Linked DNA regions of Homo sapiens: region 2 is linked to region 1. The links are contacts of gene promoters, found by promoter capture Hi-C in human tissues and cell types (Jung and others, 2019). All regions are on one chromosome and are shown on one strand. Each heading gives the region's core, a stretch centred on a gene start or on the middle of the fragment in contact. The rest is flanking DNA. Distances are from core to core; before and after follow the strand shown. Region 1 holds the start of IFT140 (intraflagellar transport 140). Region 2 overlaps UNKL (unk like zinc finger).

The links. Contacts are between HindIII fragments. The study calls those that stand out against the background at their distance.
Region 2: a fragment that was not itself captured here is called in contact with the fragment with the promoter of IFT140 in region 1 in 1 of the 25 tissues and cell types used here (dorsolateral prefrontal cortex).

The regions. Positions count from the first base shown.
Region 1 is chr16:1,610,403-1,616,817 of GRCh38, reverse strand. IFT140 (intraflagellar transport 140) reads left to right here and starts at 4,746. Exons shown (of 31, transcript NM_014714.4): 1 at 4,746-4,850; 2 at 5,965-6,154. It overlaps CRAMP1 (cramped chromatin regulator 1), which reads right to left and starts at 4,458. Exons shown (of 21, transcript NM_020825.4): 1 at 4,161-4,458; 2 at 1,833-2,179. The coding sequence starts at 2,178. RefSeq lists enhancers at 3,562-4,062, 4,063-4,563, 4,952-5,011 and silencers at 3,942-4,101, 4,132-4,251, 4,272-4,801, 6,040-6,415. The HindIII fragment of the contact is 16,182 bases long and covers 1-6,415 here.
Region 2 is chr16:1,369,768-1,376,182 of GRCh38, reverse strand. UNKL (unk like zinc finger) reads left to right here. Exons shown (of 15, transcript NM_001372107.1): 11 at 4,572-4,664; 12 at 5,826-6,053. It also overlaps the pseudogene TJP1P1. Among named protein-coding and RNA genes, the nearest start is that of GNPTG, 21 kb to the right of the region's middle. RefSeq lists an enhancer at 512-1,011. The HindIII fragment of the contact is 5,493 bases long and covers 1-5,489 here.

The sequences.
Region 1 (6,415 bases), core at 3,497-5,996:
ATATATTTGCTTGCTAAAGTGGGATAATGGATATGTCACGAGGAGCACAAATTCTAATAAATTTGCATTTTATTAATATTAAAACTTAATGAAAAGTCCCACGCTTCTCCAAGCCACACAATGGGACAAGAAGCAAAGAAAGAAGTGCCAGCAACCTAAGTGTGAGCCAAGCTCAGGAAACCTTCTGCACCTTAGCAAGCCACTCTCAACTATACAAACAAAAGCAAGCCTCCCCTCGTCCCAACTGCCAAAAATTGACCTGATCACTAACGTCTCAGCAGCACTTCACTTATACATACAAGTAGCCACGTACACGTCTGAGAGTGCTTTCACACCAATGCACTATTTCATTTTAGCAGCCGCACTTCAACGGGGTGAAGTAGCTGCTCTCATTCCTTGCCTCACAGGTGAGGACACCCGACAGAAAAGCATCTCCAAGAGGGTGAAGGGGCAGAGCAAGGTTGGAGGCCAGGGACATGGGGGACGAATGCCGGCTGGATTCAAGGTCCAGGGCTTCTGAACCATGAACAACAAACCTTTGAAGGAACCATGGAGCTTATATGAGCTTAGACATACCTGTAACTAGCAATAAAAAACTAGTAACAAGCAAAGCCACTCATGTTTTCCAAATTGATCAGCAACTTTCACATCAAAATAAATTCATATGAGGCAAGTTTTAAATTCTGAAACATGCTAAGTTACCTTCTATTTACATCTTTAAATAAGTATACTTATATCAGAATTCTTTACCAATGAGTAAGGCCATGATTCCGGAGGCCAGCCTTCTTCGGTTGAGAATGCGGCAGGAGAAGTGGGCTTAATGGAACACATGTGGCACAGATCTCCAAAGCAGGTTCTCCATTAGTTCGTAATATATTTCCTTGTCAAAACTACCAGGACCATTCACTAAATGTAAACGAGCATTTCCCAAGGAAGGAAGTGAAAGATTTTTTTTTCACGTGAAACTCACTGGAAGCTGATGTTATATTTGCTATTTATACAAAGTGCTGCGAACATGGTCGGAAACAAAAAGAATCAGAGTCATTCACCTGCGTAAGGAAAAGCACAAGACTGAAATAGAAATAAGAGCAGACAACAATGAAGCACTGGCACATGGAGAACGAAACTAACATGCCGTTTTCTTACTATCTTGGTAAGAGACCCCAGCTAAGTAGCAACATTCTCCATCACCTCAGAATACAAGGGCGAACACTACAAGCTGCTGCTTGTTCATGTCAATCGTTTTCACCACTCTTTCCTTTCTTTGGCACAGAAGTAAACCCCAGTTGCAACTCAAAGGGCCCCATCTCTATGCCCTTCCTACTCTCAACCCAGGAGCACTTGAAGGAGAGGACAATGGGTCCAAGTCAGACCCCAAGGATCCTTTCTCCGCTTCTTACCCATCTTCCCCCCAATGAGTTTCAAAAGCCTGCTCCCTTGGTGCATTTCCACCGCCTGATGTCTGGGAAAGAGATACAGCAGGTATTTTTTTCTCTTCCCGTTTCCGAACTATTGTCCGCTGTTTGAAACACAAAACCATAGAAAACCATCAGTGATCCTTTGGAAAGGAAACAGCTTTAAGGGATCTCTTCGACTCCCCCCCAAAAAAGGATACTCACTGCCTCTTCAAAGAGTTTAAATATAGAAAGTCGCAGCCTCTTCGAAGGAGAGAGGGGACACATGCCCCATAAGTGCCACCCAAATTGAGAGCCTCAGTGTAGGCCGCGGGATGGGTGAGCTAGGGTGGAGCCCGGCTGGGGCGAGGGGTTCCTCTCCCCCGCGGCACACCCCGGAGAGGGGCTGGGGTCTCCCAAGGGGACGGGCCGCCCTACCTTTTCCGCGGGGCCCCGAGCCACCGGCGTTGCCGCTCCCCACAGCGCTCGGAGGATCCTTCCTGGGCCTCTTGCTCTGCGGCCGCACGCTGGACCGGAGGAAGTGGTGCTGGTCCTGGGGGCTGCCCTGCGGCGGGGACGGCGCCTGCGGCGCGCCGGGGGGCGCGGGGGGGCCGTCGGCGCCGGCCCGGGGGGTCTTCTCGTCCCTCTTTGTGCCGCTGCTCTCCTCGGCCGCGTCTGCGCCGCCGGCCCCTTCTCCTTCCAGGGACTCCTCATCGGCCGCCCGCTTGCCCAGCTTCTTGAGCCCGTCCTCCCCGCTGCCGCCGTCGCCCAACTTCACTGTCATCCTGCGGCCGGGAGAGGGGAGGCGGCCGGTGAGGCGGGCGCAGGCCGGGAAGTTTAGCGGCCCCGACGCGCTCTCAACATGGCCGCCGTTGTTTGTTCCAAATCCCCTCTCGGCGGCTCGGCCCGGCCCGCCCGAGCCCGCCCGAGCCCGCCGCGGCCCCTGCCGCCCCCACGCCGCCGCCCCCGGCCCTGCCCACCAGCCCGGGACCCTCCCGGGCCTCCCCGGACGCCCCCTGGCCGAGGCTCGCGTCCAGACGCCCGGGCCGGCGGCGGGAGGGCGCGACAGCTCGGCGGACCCTGCCCGGCCCCGGCCCCGGCCCCGGCCCCGGGGTCTATGGGAGCCCCGGCGCGGGCGCGGGTCTGGGCACGGTTGCGGGTCCGGGCCGCTGCCCCGCCCACAGCCACCTACCCGGCGGGGCCGCGGCTCATGGCCTGGCCCTGCGCGCCGGCCTCGCTCCCTGCGCCGCCTCGGCCGGCCGGGCCGCAGCCCCAGCCCTAGCCCCTCGTCCCACCCCCTCCCCGCCCCCCGAAAGGCGCGGGGCTCCCGGGCCCCGCGCACCTGCCCCACGCGCCGGCCCCCAGAGCTGGCCCTGGAGGAGGACAGAGGAGGCCGGATCCACCCCGGGACGGGAGAAGCGCGGGCTCGCCTGCCCGCACGGGGAACTCCATGGTGGCCCAATGCCGCCGGCCCGCCTGCTTATTTTAAAACACACATAAAGAATAATCAGCTCCGGGTCTCTGGGAATCTTCTTCCCAGGGTGGGAAATGTGAGCTGCTGCGGGGATTTACTAGTTAAAAATGCTTTTGCAACAAAGGAGCCTGTTGCATGGAACAGGTTGGAACCACCCGGGAAAGTGACAGCCCAGTTATGTCCGGGTCCAGGTGCAAGAAGCGGTAGAAGACAATGGTGTTAAAACTCTTGGCAACAATTAATAAAATTATTGCATCAACTTTGCTACCCACCGCCCTGTAAAATGTCAACAACAAAGTGCAGTGACTAAAAATGCTGCAGCCCAGAAAGCAGAGCCACTCAAAAATAAACTCAGACAATCAGGTACACAGCAAGAGCTGCAGCCCAGAAACAGTCCGGGACGGGCACGTGTGAGGAAGCAAAAACGCTGAAGATTAGATTCCTCAGCAGATACTGACCCTGCGTTCAACTCAACTGTTGAGAACGGGGGCATTTCCACTTCAAAGGAACACACGATCGAGGCACCAACACCAACCACGAAATACAGGGACGCGGGCGAGGACCTCTCTTTCCGAGAGATCGGGAAATGGCTTCAAAGTCGCAATGATGCCCCCACCCTGAGGTGCAGATCACACAAGGATCCGTGGCCGTTTTCTCCTGTCGGAATTGGTCTAGGGAATCTCGAGTTCATGCTAGTTTTAAAAAAAACTCTGCCAAAGAACAAAACCACCCACGACAAACACCCCAACTTAAGGGATTTCGTGGCAAGACTTCCCACTCTTCCCCCTCAACCCACCTCTTTCCACTCAAGAAACCTAAACCCCCAAAGACCTCGTCTCGGGCTGAGAACCCCGCTGCCCAGGGACCTGTCCGCCCGCAGGCCACCCGGGACCCAAGCAAAACAAACTCGGCCACCAGAGTGAACTCGCCCGCTCGCCGGGCTCCACACCCAAGACGCCGACCGAGCACGGGGAAGCGCTTTTCGCCACTGAAAGGACCGACGCCGTCCAGACTTTACCCTAAGGGCCAACAAGCAGGGGGATGGCCTCCTTTTCGCGAGAACCTCCAACGAGACCGGACTTTTCTCGGAGGCGCAGTCTCCTCCAGCCCCGTCCCGCTCCGCACCGGCTCGCGTCTCGGGATGGGGACGCAGAAGCCTCCTCGCCCTGAGGCCAGTTGTGGCTGTACCGGGCGCTGTGGAAGCGACGCCCCCCCCGCGCTCTCCCGCGCCGCCCGACAGGACCCCCCGGCCGGGCCTCGCCATGACAGCCCCGCCGCCCAGCCTTGGTCACCTTTTTCATCAACGCCGGGCGGCAGCCTGGCTTCCCGGGGCCTCCCCGGGTGCCCGCAGAACCAGCCGGGCCGGGCAGCCCCGGCCCCCGAGCGCCGGCTGCAGGGAGGCCGCAACGCCGGGCTGGTCGTCCGCCTCGGAAGCGACTGGTCGAGCGGCGCTAGCCCCGGCACGTCCCCTCCGCGGGCCGGCGCGCGGCTGCGGGGGCTGCGGACGCAGATACTGCCGCCACTCACCCTAGCGAAGCCGGCCCGCCGCCCTCAGCAGCAGTTCCGGCTACGGCGGCCGGTGGGGACCTCACGGACGGCGCGCGGGGGCGGGGCCGGGGTGCGCGGGCGCGCGGGGCGGGGCGACGAACGCGGGGGCGAGCACCCCCAATGTTTCTTCGGGCCCGTCTCCCCAAAACGGCGCTCCCATTGGCTAGCGCTGGGCGGGCGCGCTCGCACGTACGAGCCCGGTGGGCGTCGGGGGCGAGCCCGCGGCGCCAGTAGTGTTGTGACGCCAGCCTCGCGACCTTGCGGACTGTGCGTCTCTTTGGATTGGTGGACAGACAGCCAATAGGCCAGGGCCCGTGCTGTGATTGGCCGCAGCAGTGTTGACGGATACGTGAGAAGAAAACGGCGTGGTAGCTCGGAGTGTGGAATCGGGCGCGAACCTGAGTTCTGAGAAGTGTGGAAGCACGTCTGAGGCAGTTAAGCGCACCCTTTCCTGGGTGGAGTATGTGCTTCTGCGCTACGTTAGCGTAGCCGAGCGGCGCTGGGCACTTGGTCATTTTCTTCATAGCAAGAAAGCAGAGGGGTGTTTTTCAAATTCCAGTGTTTCTTTCTTTCTTTTTTTTTTTTTTTGAGACGGAGTTTCGCTCTGTCGCCCAGGCTGGAGTGCAGTGGCGCAATCTTGGCTCACTGCAAGCTCCGCCTCCCAGGTTCAAGCGATTCTCCTGCCTCAGCCTCCCGAGTAGTTGGAATTACAGGCGCGCGCCACCATACTCGCTAATTTGTGTGTTTTTAGTACATACGGGGTTTCACCATGTTGGCCAAGCTAGTCTCGAACTCCTGACCTCAAGTGATCCGCTCGTCTCAGCCTCCCAAAGTACTGGGTTTGCAGGCGTGAGCCACCGCGCCCGGCTCAAATTCCAGTGTTTCTTTTTCTTTTCTTTTTTTTTTTTTTTGACTCGCTCTGTCGCCCAGGCTGGAGTGCAGTGGCCCGATCTCGGCTCGCTGCAGTCTCCGCCTCCCGGGGCTCAGGCGATTCTCCTCCCTCAGCCTCCTGTAGCCGAGACTAGAGGCGCCACCGCGCCCGGCTAATTTTTGTAATTTTTTAGAGACAGGATCTCGCCTTGTTGCCAAGGCTGGTCTCGAACTCCTGGGCTCCAACGATCCGCCCGCCCCAGCCCCCAAGAGCTGGAAGCCCAAGCGCGAGCCCCGCGTCCGGCCGCCAGCTGCTTTCTTGGGGGCGCTCCCTGCCTCGCTTGGCTCTGTGGAGTCCGGGGCCCGGCGATGGAACAGGCCCTCAGTCACCCAACACCTCAGGACACTGCCGAGCGCATCGACTTTCCCAGAAACGCTTGACCCACGCCCTCCGCTCCGAAACTAGAAAAGCGGAGCCCAGGGAAGGCCTGGGCCGAGACCGCCGCGTGCTGGAAAGGCTCCGCCTCGGGATGCACGGGAAGGGAACACGCCCAGGAGGGGAGGATGCCGCGGTTGATCGGGGCTGTGACAGCGCGCCCTCCACACAAAGGGGACCCAGACGCCGGCCCTGCGCCGCCGTCTCTCCTAGAAAAAGCTCGTCCCGCTTCTCTCTTGCAGAGCGGAATAACCTGGCCCCCGACGCTCGGGCCTCGGAGCTGCACGTGCGTGCCCGATCGCCTTCGGCTCTTTCCGGCCGCTCGGGGCGCTTCGGGAGTCCTCGGGGCCGCCTCGCTCACCTTCGGCTATTTCCGCGTTCCTGGCGCGCCGTTGTCCCGGCAACGCGCGGCGGCTCAGCGGCCTGGCAGAGGTGAGTGGCCTTAGGGCTAGGGCGGCCGACCCAGGTCCTTAGGAGCCAGGCCGGGGTTTGGGGCCGAGGATGTGACCGGTGGCGGGCGTCGGGACCCTCCCGTCTCCTCCCACGATCCCGGCGCCGCCGAGTCCCCGCGGCCCCTCGCGAGTCCCATCGAGGCTGGGGCGGGCTTGGCGCGGGGTCCAGGTCGCTCGTCGGACTATGGCTGTCGCCCCCGCCCGGCCTCGAATCGCGGCTGATTCCGGTAGCTGGGAGAGT
Region 2 (6,415 bases), core at 1,494-3,993, 240 kb after region 1:
GCCCCAGCCTTGGACTGAGGGAGGAGGAGCGCCCCAGCCCTGGAGGGAGGAGGGAGGAGCGTGCCCCAGCCTTGGAGTGAGGGAGGAGGAGCGCCCCAGCCCTGGAGGGAGGAGGGAAGAGGCCCTGCCCGCCACAGATCTCACTTTCAGCCTTGGAGCCACCTGTCCAAGGCCGCTCAGTGCGTGGTCCTCTGCCACTGCCTGCAGTGTCTCGGCTCTGCTGCTCAGCACGACTTCAGTCAGGCTTTGAGGTCTTGCCCTCTTCAGCCATGGCCTGAGAACGTCAAGTGGATGACAGCGACCGGGAGGGCTGGCCCACCCTGCAGGCCAGGGTGGATGTCCGCTCAGGGACGCCACCGTCCTGTGAATGGGAAGGAGAGGAGTGAATGGCTCTGGGTGCGGCTGGCCCAAGGCCTGCCTTTGGCTCCGCCGATGAGCATCCTTGAGGGCTGAGGCATTTTCGGATGCTACTGTGGGTTCCTGGTCCCCAGGGGGTCTTGGCCTGGCTGCCCCGACCCCCAACCTGTTACTCTAGTTTCTGGATAAGACCTTCGAAAGTCCCTAAAAGCTTCATTGGAACGGTGTCTCCGTGGGAGTGGAGGCCACTCCCGCATGCGCCGTGTGCCGTCCCGGACGCCCCAGGGGTTCAGGTTCTCTGCCCTGGGCCCTGCTGCCTCTGTGACGGGATGGGGAAGGACAGTGTTGCCAGGTGGCGCCACAGCCCGGCCTCCACGCCCCGGAAATTCCCTCACGGCTGGCGTGTGGACGAGGGTTGAGTCTGGGTCGTGCTGTGCGGTGGAGTGGGGTGGGGGTGGCCTCTGCCTTGCGGCCTCTGGAGTCCACCGTCCACTCCCGAGCCAGGCTTCTCTCCCGCCTGCCGCTCTGGGTGGTGGAGCACGGTCTCCACACAGTGTGGCTGCTGAGCGCGGCCAGATTCGGGGTGAAGTTCAGAGGCCCGGACCTGCCAGCTGCGCCACGTCCACGCCAGCCTCTGCCTGTGCTCCGCTGGGGCCACCACCGCGGCACGAGGATACTCCGGCTGCCCTGGGGGGCTCGGGGGGTGTGACCGCCGAGCGCCAGGCCTCGGGCGAGGGGCCACCCGCCACCCTGTGGTTGCTCCCATGGTCCCCGTGGCGCTGACTGGTGCCAGCTGCTTCCAGGGAGGAGAAGCGGAGGCCTGGGCAGAGGGGTGAGGTGCAGGCCACGTGCCCCACAGCTGTGTTCCCGACAAATCTCATGTGCGGCTAGGGCAGCGTTCTTCTTCAGAAGTCACCCTCCTGCCTTTCCTGCTGATTATGCTGAAAATGTCTGGAAAGGCCCCAGCTGTCTTCCCCGGCAGAGTGGGGTTTTGTCCCTCTGCGGCCCCTTGGCTGCCGAGTCCTTGTTTCTCCAGCTGTTTTTTGGGATGCCCCCTGTGTGGTGAACCTGCTGTCACCCTGACATGGCCACCAAGTCCTGACGAGTCAGCCCTGCCTGGCTCAGCCAGCTCCCTGCTGGGTGGGGTGGGTTGTGGGGAGTGAGGCTGCAGGAGGTCTGCGAGGGCGGGACTCGATGTCGGGTAGGTGGGGCAGTGACCGCCTCTTTGCTTCTGCTGGGCCCCAGCTTGTCTGAACCGAGCACCAGGCAGGGGCTGGCCAGGCTGTGGAGGTTCCCGGCGCGCCGACCCCCACGGTCGGGTCTGACAGGTTTCCCCGGGGTGCGGTTGCCTGGGGCCATGGAGGGACCATCGGTCCCAGGTGAGGACAGGAGGAAGGGGGTCTAGGGCCCTTCAGGGACAGGCAGGGGTGGCTTTGCCTGTCTCAGAGCAGGCCTCAGCAGCACACTGTCCAGTACCAGGCATCAGTGAGGGTCCAAGAACTTGCAGCCAGCAGGGACGACAGGGCAGGGCCCCCCAGGAGAGACCCCACACAGCGCACATGGGAGAGTGGATGCCAAAGGTGGGCAGCGGGGAGGGCGCCTGCGCAACAGTCCCTGTGTGGTGTGCCCCACGCTGCTGAGGTCTCTGTGCGGTGTTGGCCGGCAGTCCCTGTGTGGTGTGCCCCACGCTGCTGAGGTCTCTGTGCGGTGTTGGCCGGCAGTCCCTGTGTGGTGTGCTCCACGCTGCTGAGGTCTCTGTGCGGTGTTGGCCGGCAGTCCCTGTGCGGTGTGCTCCACGCTGCTGAGGTCTCTGTGCGGTGTTGGCCGGCAGTCCCTGTGCGGTGTGCTCCACGCTGCTGAGGTCTCTGTGCGGTGTTGGCCGGCAGTCCCTGTGCGGTGTGCTCCACGCTGCTGAGGTCTCTGTGCGGTGTTGGCCGGCAGTCCCTGTGCGGTGTGTTCCATGCTGCTGAGGTCTCTGTGCGGTGTTGGCCGGCAGTCCCTGTGTGGTGTGCTCCACGCTGCTGAGGTCTCTGTGCGGTGTAGGCCGGCAGTCCCTGTGCGGTGTGCCCCACGCTGCTGAGGTCTCTGTGCGGTGTTGGCCGGCAGTCCCTGTGCGGTGTGCTCCACGCTGCTGAGGTCTCTGTGCGGTGTTGGCCGGCAGTCCCTGTGCGGTGTGCTCCACGCTGCTGAGGTCTCTGTGCGGTGTTGGCCGGCAGTCCCTGTGCGGTGTGCTCCACGCTGCTGAGGTCTCTGTGCGGTGTTGGCCGGCAGTCCCTGTGCGGTGTGCTCCACGCTGCTGAGGTCTCTGTGCGGTGTTGGCCGGCAGTCCCTGTGCGGTGTGCCCCACGCTGCTGAGGTCTCTGTGCGGTGTTGGCCGGCAGTCCCTGTGTGGTGTGCCCCACGCTGCTGAGGTCTCTGTGCGGTGTTGGCCGGCAGTCCCTGTGTGGTGTGCCCCACGCTGCTGAGGTCTCTGTGCGGTGTTGGCCGGCAGTCCCTGTGTGGTGTGCTCCACGCTGCTGAGGTCTCTGTGCGGTGTTGGCCGGCAGTCCCTGTGCGGTGTGCTCCACGCTGCTGAGGTCTCTGTGCGGTGTTGGCCGGCAGTCCCTGTGCGGTGTGTTCCATGCTGCTGAGGTCTCTGTGCGGTGTTGGCCGGCAGTCCCTGTGCGGTGTGTTCCATGCTGCTGAGGTCTCTGTGCGGTGTTGGCCGGCAGTCCCTGTGTGGTGTGTTCCATGCTGCTGAGGTCTCTGTGCGGTGTAGGCCGGCAGTCCCTGTGTGGTGTGCTCCACGCTGCTGAGGTCTCTGCGGTGTTGGCCGGCAGTCCCTGTGTGGTGTGCCCCACGCTGCTGAGGTCTCTGTGCGGTGTTGGCCGGCAGTCCCTGTGTGGTGTGCCCCACGCTGCTGAGGTCTCTGTGCGGTGTTGGCCGGCAGTCCCTGTGTGGTGTGCTCCACGCTGCTGAGGTCTCTGTGCAGTGTAGGCCGGCAGTCCCTGTGCGGTGTGCCCCACGCTGCTGAGGTCTCTGTGCGGTGTTGGCCACAACACTGGGCTGGGCTGGGGAGGCGGCGCCGGCCCACAGGGTGTATCCCAGAGCTCCTGCAGCCGCTGCGGTCCTCTGGTCTGCCCCAGGTGGCACGTGGGCTCTCAGATCCCAGATCCTCTGGTCACCCCTCACCCCCAACCCAACTTCTGTGCAGTGGCTGCGGGAGTTTGAGACACGCTGTGGCTTCAGGGGCTGGTGGCCTGAGCTCAGCCTCCTCATGATGGCTTCCTAATTCTAGGAAGGGGCAGTGGGGTCCCTGCTTGCCATTCGGGGTTGGGGGTGGGGACTTGGGAGGGAAGGGCCCGTGCAGGAGGGCAGCCCCACGGCCTGCAGGGATGTGTGGGGACAGCCTTGGAAGGCAGGGCTGGCTGGGTGAGGCCACTCTGAGGCGGGTCCTTCCCACTCAGTCTTGAGCCTTGGGAATTGAGGTCTTGGTGCTTGGCATGAAATTGCACGTGAACACCTGCTCCTTGAAATCACCCTCACAGAAAGTTTTTTTTTTGTTTTTGTTTTTGTTTTTTTTGAGATGGAATCTTGCTCTGTCGTCCAGGCTGGAGGGCAGTGGCACGATCTCGGCTCACTGCAAGCTCCGCCTCTGGGGTTCACACCATTCTTCCGCCTCAGCCTCCCGAGTAGCTGGGACTACAGGCACCCGCCACCACGCCTGGCTAATTTTTTGTATTTTTTTTTTTTTGGTTGAGACGGGGTTTCACCGTGTTAGCCAGGATGGTCTCGATCTCCTGACCTTGTGATCTGCCCACCTCGGCCTCCCAAAGTGCTGGGATTACAGGTGTGAGCCACCGCACCCGGCCCTGGAAAGTTTTTTAAACAGTCGAATGTGCACACGTGGACAGATGCTAACACACACTTAGGTATTTAAACTCTGAGGGGCAGCAGCAGCGTGTCAGAGGCGAGGACCCAGCTGCTGGTCTGTGGTGCGGGGCGTCCCACCTGAGCACGCTCGTTTTGCCGGAGGAACAGCCAAGCCTCACACTGCCTGTGGGGGGCTGCGAGGACGGGCTGGGGGTGTCCTTCCCTGGCTGCCCCAGCAACTCCCACGCCTTCTGCCCTTGGTCTCACTCTAAGCCCAGGTGGGACGGTCGTCCTCCTCAGCTAGGCTTCCTGAGCTCTGCAGCGCTGGGTGGGCTGTGGATGATGGGGGGCTCTGTTGACAGGTTCTGCGTTAGACCTGCATCTTAGCAATGTGAATATTGCATCCCTAGAGAAGGACCTGGAAGAGCAAGACGGCCACGACCTGGGAGCAGCAGGTGAGGGTGGGGAGGACCTGGGGCCCTGCTCCTCCAGCCGCTGAACAGCCAAGTGCTGTGGCCGGAGGATCGCTTGAGCCCGGGGAGGTCAAGGCTGCAGTGAGCTGAGGTTGCACCACTGCACTCCTGCCTGGACCACAGGGCAAGACCCGGTGTCTGGTTTTCGGAGCGGGAGGATCCCCTTCTGGCGGTACCTCCTCCTCCTCTCCCTGACTGCCTCTCCCTTTCCCTCCCCTGCACATGGACTCCTCAGCATCTCTCCTGCCTCGGGCCTGCCCACTTCTTCAGTTGACCTTTGTCCCAGCAAAGTGGCCGCGCAGAGACAGGCGGGGCCTTTCCTGAAAGTCTTGATGGTCCCCGAAGGATAAATGTATTCACATTGTAGACAAAAGATTGACATCCATACAAATGTATCTTTTTTTTTTTTTTTTTTTTTGAGACAGAGCCTCGCTCTGTCGCCCAGGCTGGAGTGCAGTGGCGCGATCTCCGCTCACTGCAAGCTCCACCTCCCGGGTTCACGCCATTCTCCTGCCTCAGCCTCCGGAGTAGCTGGGACTACAGGTGCCCGCCACCACGCCCAGCTAATTTTTTGTATTTTTAATAGAGACGGGGTTTCACCATGTTAGCCAGGATGGTCTCCATCTCCTGACCCCGTGATCTGCCCGCCTTGGCCTCCCAAAGTGCTGGGATTACAGGCGTGAGCCAGTGCGCCCGGCCCCATACAAATGTATCTTAACATCGTATACAACATCTTTTCATTCAGCCTAAAAGTGTATCTTTTCTTTCTTTTAAAAGAAAGTAAACCATTTCAGGGGGCCTGGACAAGTGCTGGGAGGACCGTGCCAATGGCTTAGTTGGCCGGCAGGGCCTGGTGGGTGTCCGGCCTCTTTGGGGGGGGCCCATGTTAAACCCCCGTCTCCCCACCTCTGGTTGGAATCCCTTTGAGCCCATGGCTTGCCCAGCTGTGTTGGACATGGCCACCGGGGGCGCTGTGGCTCCAAACACATAGATGGTGGTGGCTGGCCTGGCCCCTATATTCCCACCCCCCATATCCCCACCACCACCACCTGCAGGGTCCGTCTTCCACGGCTGCCGCCCATGGCAGATGTTTGGGCAGAGGCCTGGCGGTACTCCCTTCGCTGACTGGTCCGCCCCCGCCAGGTCCCAGGTCGCTGGCCGGCTCTGCACCTGTCGCCATCCCCGGCTCCCTGCCCAGAGCACCATCGCTACACTCGCCATCCTCTGCGTCCACCTCGCCGCTCGGTTCGCTGTCCCAGCCCCTCCCAGGGCCGGTGGGCTCCTCAGCCATGACGCCTCCCCAGCAGCCGCCACCCCTGCGTTCAGAGCCGGGCACACTGGGCTCTGCAGCCTCATCCTACAGCCCCCTAGGTGAGTGCCGGCTCCCTCCATGCTGGCGTTGCCGTGAAGCCTCCGTGGGGCTCCCTCCCAGATGCCGTCCTGACTGAGGGGCCTCACACGGAACCTTGTGCCCTATCTGTGGTGGCAAACCACATGACCTGCTGCTCACAGGTTCCCCCACGCCGCAGACCGAGTCTCGCTCTGTCGCCCAGGTTGGACTGCAATGGTACGATCTCGGCTCGCCGCAACCTCCGCCTCCCAGGTTCAAGCAATTCTCCTGCCTCAGCCACCCAAGTAGCTGGGACTACAGGCGGGCGCCACCACGCCCAGCTAGTTTTTGTATTTTTAGTAGAGATGGCGTTTCATCACGCTGGCCGGGCCGGTCTCAAACT